Linked DNA regions of Homo sapiens: region 2 is linked to region 1. Evidence: promoter capture Hi-C in 16 types of primary human blood cells and fetal thymus (Javierre and others, 2016). All regions are on one chromosome and are shown on one strand. Each heading gives the region's core, a stretch centred on a gene start or on the middle of the fragment in contact. The rest is flanking DNA. Distances are from core to core; before and after follow the strand shown. Region 1 holds the start of ORMDL1 (ORMDL sphingolipid biosynthesis regulator 1). Region 2 holds the start of NEMP2 (nuclear envelope integral membrane protein 2).

Evidence for each region. Contacts are between HindIII fragments. The CHiCAGO score rates a contact against its expected background, and 5 or more counts as called.
Region 2: a contact is called between the fragment with the promoter of NEMP2 here and the fragment with the promoter of ORMDL1 in region 1, in 16 of 17 cell types (fetal thymus, total B cells, monocytes and 13 more). The highest score is 20.1, in fetal thymus.

The regions. Positions count from the first base shown.
Region 1 is chr2:189,782,743-189,785,947 of GRCh38, forward strand. It overlaps ORMDL1 (ORMDL sphingolipid biosynthesis regulator 1), which reads right to left and starts at 1,597. Exons shown (of 5, transcript NM_016467.5): 1 at 1,527-1,597; 2 at 272-381. PMS1 (PMS1 homolog 1, mismatch repair system component) reads left to right here and starts at 1,708. Exons shown (of 13, transcript NM_000534.5): 1 at 1,708-1,851. RefSeq lists enhancers at 884-1,770, 1,056-1,135, 1,226-1,285, 1,296-1,525, 2,076-2,125 and a silencer at 1,666-1,715. The HindIII fragment of the contact is 2,480 bases long and covers 1-1,625 here.
Region 2 is chr2:190,533,247-190,536,451 of GRCh38, forward strand. NEMP2 (nuclear envelope integral membrane protein 2) reads right to left here and starts at 1,476. Exons shown (of 9, transcript NM_001142645.2): 1 at 1,313-1,476. The coding sequence starts at 1,409. It overlaps NEMP2-DT (NEMP2 divergent transcript), which reads left to right and starts at 1,592. Exons shown (of 5, transcript NR_183903.1): 1 at 1,592-1,875. RefSeq lists a silencer at 1,140-1,789. The HindIII fragment of the contact is 6,238 bases long and covers 1-3,042 here.

The DNA of each region.
Region 1 (3,205 bases), core at 347-2,846:
ATGCTACTTGTAGATGCTGATGACAGCAGTAAAGAATCTTCAGCATTTGACTTTAGGGTAAGACAAGACTTGTTATTATGGTTCTATTTGAAAAAATAGTTACAATGCCTTTCCAAAAGTTTGTTTTCTAGCATGTTGTTTTACTGAATAGGAAAATTCAAACTGAAAGAGAAAACCTACATTTTCTTATATCATGAGAGCAAAGTGAAAAGCCAAAAGCTAAATTTACCAACATAATAAATTTATATTAAAAAGAAAAAGCAGAACTCACCGAGCCAGTGTGTCAAGTAGTCAGACTCTTATATTTGACTTAATGTATCCATAAAGAATGGTCAGAGTTCAGATCACTTCTTTCTGAATACTCAATGTGGAAGGTACATGCTGTTGACATAATGTGGTGTAAAATTTACATGGTCAAGGGATAATGTTTGTTTCTCAATTTTGTGATTAAACTAGGTGAAAATAAGGAGTCTTCTGAATATTTCTCTAGTCAAATCAAAAACTTCAGTTTTCTTTCTTCTTTTTAAAAAAGGTTTTCCCTTCTCCTTTCCATTGAAGATGGACTCCAAAGGAAGAATTGATAATAGTTCTCAGTTCTTTTAATGATGGTGTTTACTTGAGACTAAGAATTGCTTAAAATAAAACTGTCCTGAAGAACACCTATCATCCGACGGAGGGGGAAAACGAGGCTAGATTATATTTGGAACAGCTGTGATTTTAAAATACACAAACGCTTGTATTACGGAGTTAGCATACAGAGAGGAATTTCTCATAACCCCTTCCAGCAAATGTTTCCGGAGTATAATGCTCCTTCCGCTCTAGAGACCCATAGAACAGGCATCAAGGGTTAAGGGGACGAAAAGTTAGTTACACTAAGACCGCTAAAGCCTCCAATTTATATGTGTAAATCTTTCGTCTAAACACCCATGATTTATCATACATTAAACTATTATGTCATACTTAGAACATGCCAACACTCAAGATAGTTTTCCCACGTTCCACAGGATGGAGGCCTGAAATTTACATCTCAGCTGGAAGGCAAAGCTGGTGCGGTACTCATCCTATTCCAACCAGAAAACCTTTTCCCAGCAGGTTTGCCGCGCTGCCCACGACTGGCAAACAATGACCTTACAGACCGTGAAGAGGCTGTTGGCTCTGCCCTCGCCGGTGCCTCCGAAGACGGCGACCCGCAGCGGCCCCTCAGGGGAGTCCCCCCTGCTAGACCGACAGCCCGAGCGCTCTGGGCCAGAGAAAACTCAGCAAAAGCCGCCGCTGCTACCACCTCAGCGCCTCCCCCAACCCGCCCCTTCCTTCTCGCGGCCGCACGTCACGTCAGGACCCTGGCAAGACAACGAGGATTTGCGTAGGGGGCGAGCCTCTGAGGCCACTTGGCTCTTACGGCCACGCAGGGCGCCGCAGATGCAGCCGGAGCCCGCTTTTCCCTCTCAGGACGACCCCTAGGCCGCCAGCAGTTCCCTACCGACGAAGGCGACTGTACAGCGTCCACCGCGTTCGTGCCCACTTACCCGCCGCCCCACTCCGGGCCGCCGGCTCGCAGCAGGACCAGCCCGGCTGCTACGGCCGCGGATACACGCCCTCAGGCCCGGCGCTGCGCAGCTTGCGGAAGCTTTCCCGGACAGACTCGCTGCCAGCGGATTGGCTGCGAGCAGCGCCAATCTCACGTTGCCCCCGGGCGAGGCGGGACTCAGTGCCGCGCTCTCTGCACCCGCTCTGCCGCGCGCGTGCGTGCTGGGTGCGGGTGCGGGTGCGGGGTTGGGCCTGCGCATCGGGTGAGACGCTGGCTGCTTGCGGCTAGTGGATGGTAATTGCCTGCCTCGCGCTAGCAGGAAGGTAGTGTGGTGTGACTAACGGGTATTTATTATATCCTCGATGGCTCGAGGGCCCCGTCCCCTCTACTCGTCCTGGTCCGGGCGCGAACGCTATAGGGCAGCTAAGGGCGCTCCCCGCGGGGCGGGAAGCGAAGCCGGGCTTGCGGGCGCGCACACGTGGAACGCGTTTTCTGAGCAGGTCTGGGCTCCGGGGTGTTCTGGCTTGGTCTTTGTTGCGTCCCATTCCCCAGACCCTTCTGGGTGGAGGACTTAAAATTTGTTTTCCAGGCAGCAGATTTAACCCATGGCAACTGTAACTCATCTTGTGTGAGTGGCGGTTTATAGTATTGTATCCTGTGGCATCATACAAGGGGTGCAAGTTAAACTCTTTAAAGTTAATCACGATTTTTGCTCTTGGCCTTCTGGGTTTATCCGTACGCCGAAGACAGGCACCTGTATTACATGCTAAGGAAATGTGAATACCAAAAATTGATCCTGAGGAAAGTCTTGATTAGGTTTTTTTGGAATCGCCTTTGAAATGTAATTTCCCTCACCTTGGCAGTGCAGAAAGTTTGTGATTTTTATTGCCGAAATAGCTTTCAACATTTTGAAATTGACTTAAGAGAATGTTGGCTGTGTATGTCTGTATCTTGCATTTCTGTTGGCTTTGTGAACCTAATTGTTTTGGATTTAGTCTGATCTTTAAATAAATGATTTCTTTGTGTTCTCTCTAATGGAAGTCTGTGAGTTCTCTGATCTTTACTTCTTTTTTAGGCACACCTGTTGTCCTTAACTGACTTTCCGGGTCATCAGCACTTCTTCAGAAGTGTTCCTTTTCCCTCCCAGCAAATATGGAAGACTGACTATCCTGATATTCCCAGACATTCTTTGCTGTGATTTGTAAGCCCGATATAAACCCTTCCATTTGGTACACATATGGTATAGAGTGCTATATTCCAGGGGCTATGCTAGCGATGTGTGATTGATATAAAACCCCTGTCCTCAAAGAACTCTGAGTCAGGAGCAACAGACAGAAACACATATTAATAGAGTAACTTGTGATGAGGTTAATTAGAAATGAGGTAAAGGGGGACTGCAGGGGAAGGAATACCTAATCTGTTGGCAGGTGAAGGAAAGGAGGCTGCAGCAGGGAAGAAAGGCTTGAAGAGTTGATACTGAACTAAATCTGGAAGGATGATTAGAAGTCAGCTGAGAGAGAACCATGTGAGCTGAGGAAGGAGTGAGTGTCACCATGTTAAGAGAGACAAGTTGGCTGGGCACGGTGGCTCACACCTGTAATCCCAGCACTTTGGGAGGCCAAGGCGGGCGGATCACCTGAGGTCAGGAGTTCGAGACCAGCCTGGCCAACATGGTGA
Region 2 (3,205 bases), core at 226-2,725, 750 kb after region 1:
TAAGGCTACTTCTAATTTTCTCGCTGTTGCCATGCCCAGAAACCTTCCTGCTTAGACAGATTTGTGTTTTATTTTTTCACCAGCATAAAATTGTTGTATTTCTTACTACCAAACCTTCGTTTTCTCATCTGTAAAATGGGTATAAAATGGTGCTTTCCCGCATAGGGCTTCTATGGGTATTAAATATGATAGATACTGCAGTTAAAGCACTTATAACACTGCCTAGCACATACTGAACACTCAAAAAATTTCTCTTCAATGAAAACTGGAATCCAACACTTCCCCAACATATAACTCACTGCAAGATTCCCTCAGTTGGGAGCTGTGGCAGAATCTGATAATGACCTCATCAACATCCAGTCTCTCATTCATCCTTAGATAAAAAACCGCGGTATAACCGGAGGGAGGGCCATGCCCAGCTAAAAGAATACACTTGGCAGCCTCCCTTGAAACCAGGGTAGCCAAAGCAAGGAAGGGAAGTTGGTAGACAGTGCACCCAGGAAATCTTTTAAAAGATTTTATGAGGGGAAAAAAAAAAAGAAACAGAAATGTGAAGCTCATGGTAAGTTAGCGGCAGGTCTGGAGTTGGAACTCTAGGTTTCTGACTTCCCCAGGTGTCCTTCCCAGATCCTTCCCCAGTGTGCCAGCATCTTAAGCCCACTCCGTGGCGAGCCCCTACAGCTAGCAGCCGCTACCAGTTCTTGCTTCCTGTGTGCCAGGCATTGTGCACACGAACACCACAAGAACCTTGTGAGGCCTCATTACCTGCCGCTCACGTGGGACCGTTATGTTTACTCGCTCAAGGTCACAACAGTCAGGGGCAGAAGAATTTTCGCTCCGATTCTGAAGCTGAAGCTGTTACCTTCTCTAGTCTTGAGACCAAAGGAATGCGAGATAGTGAAATAACAAGGATTTCAACACGCATTGATGTACTGTACAAAAGGCCGTGTGCTGAAAGTCTGGAGACTAGGGTCAGCTGTGCCAGTGACAAGCTGTGTGACCCTGGGCAAATCAAAACCTCTCTGAGTTTCGGTTGCTTCTGTAAAACGAGGGAATTGGGCGACTGGATCGCGCGGTTGCTTCTAATTCTAAAATTACAAAATGTCCAACTGCCAGGCGAGAGACTACGGAAGCCCAGTAAGACAGGAAGGGCGGGCGGGGCCTGCCCGGGAGACCCCAAAGCGAGAAAAGGGAGCGCCCGCCCCAGTGGGCCTCGCGGTGCCGCCCGGGCCAAAGAGCGCGCCCTCAGGGCAGCCGCGAAGCCGGGGAGCGAGCACGCACGCGCGCGCCGCCGCCGCCGGTCCCGGGTTACCTGATAACGCTGCCGCCGCCGCCTCCCCGCGCACGGGCAGTGTGGCCAGGGGCGGCAGCCAGAGCAGCAGCCACCACCGCCCTTGGCGCGGCCCCATTTCGTTAGGGGTCAGCTCCGTGCGACCCGAGCCCTAGGGGACCGGCTCCGCTGCGAGGAGCGGAAGTGGCGCGGGGGCTCAGAGAAGGCGGAGGGGGCGGTGAGGCCCGAACGCGGGAAAGGCGGAGACCCCGCCTCCCCGGGGCGGAGGGAGAGTTGGGCTCGTTGCTCCAGCCTCCGCCCGCGGCCTCGGGGCACGGCGGGCCCAGGCCGGAGGAGCTTTCGGTGGCGCGACCCCGCTGGCATGCTCCCGGCCTCGGCCTCGGCCTCGGCCTTGGCCTCCGGGCCTCCAGCGCACGCGGGGCGTCCAGGGCCTCATCTTCCCCTGGGGACCGCCCGGCCGTGTCCCGCTGCCCTCGGCGCAGGGGTGGGAGTTGCAGAGAGGAAGAGTCGCTAACCCGGAGTGTTTCTTAAAACTTGGCTGACCTGTGACCTGCGGATTTGGAGGCTGAATTCTCCGAGCACCTGTGAGTGACAGCCCGTGAATGGGAAGGTCCTTCGGCAAACGCCCTTTTTGTGAATAAAATACATAAAAGCCAGTTTCTTTATTTTACCTTTCTGTTTATCTTTTTACTTTCATTTGGTAACAAGCAATAACAAATTGGAAATTTGGCCGCTTAAGTAACACTGACTTGTATGTCTAATCTCGGACACGGCATTTCAGAGTACAGAGGGGCTCGTAAAATGTTCCTTCACCAACATGACAAGGTTCTCTTAAAATTACCTTATGTTAAAAAAAAGTTTCTTAATGTAATAGATATATTTTTAAATTAACATATAACCTGAATGATCTTAATACTGATAATTAGGAGATATACATATATTTTAAAGAACATTCCCTCCACAGGACCTGGAACCCATTAATTTGACTCAATATTCCATACTTAACTAGGACAGTCTTCTCTAATTCTGGTCTTTTGGTGAGATATCTTAGAGAACCCAAAGTAACAGAAATTATCCTGTTAAAAATAGATAAGCCTCATTTTTCCTAAAAGTCTGAGTAGGATGGACTAGGCTTTCCTTGCCCTCAAAGAAAGGTTTAACCAACTGCCCTTAAGCACTTGGCACCATGTGTACACCATGTATGGCTTTTAAAAAGTTAAGAAATTTCCTTGTAAGGGACTCTTCAGAGGGATGGTTTTTAAAAATAAACCATCATTACTTGAGTGAAGCCTGTCTTCAGAGAAACAGCAGAGCCCTGATCCAATTCTTTCCTGTATTCCCAGGTGCGGTGTGCACTTGCTTCTTGCAAGACAGCTTTTGTACCTAACCACATTCATTTTGATTTGGTTTAATTTTGGATGGCACTATGGAAAGTAGCTAAAATAAACAGGTGGGTTGTTGAATGATGAATGTATTTTCTACAGATATATCTGGTGGAGAAACAAAAGGGCAGGCAGCAATGTACTAAATATTTAAAGTGCTATTTATATCACAGATCCTTAGTAAATATCTGTAAAGAAGCTATATTGAAACACCACATTTTTCTCTATAAGCAATAAATATTTTTCCGGAGATAACAAGAATGTTAGGAGGTGATAGTTCTGTCACTGGGGGACAATCATGAAATTCCACTTAACCTCTCCAAACTTTTCTTCTGTATGAAAACCTTATCCACTGGGGGAAGGGCAGGAAGCTTTACCACCAACAGGATCCTGGCAAAGACCCCCTGCTTCTGGAGAAGAGATAGAAGCACAAACCTTCTGCCCTTTGGGGAGCAGCAGGAGCAGGAAACACTAGGGCTCTGTGTCCTGAACCAATAGAAAATTGAAGTTGGCTACTGCTGGGAAACCCTCT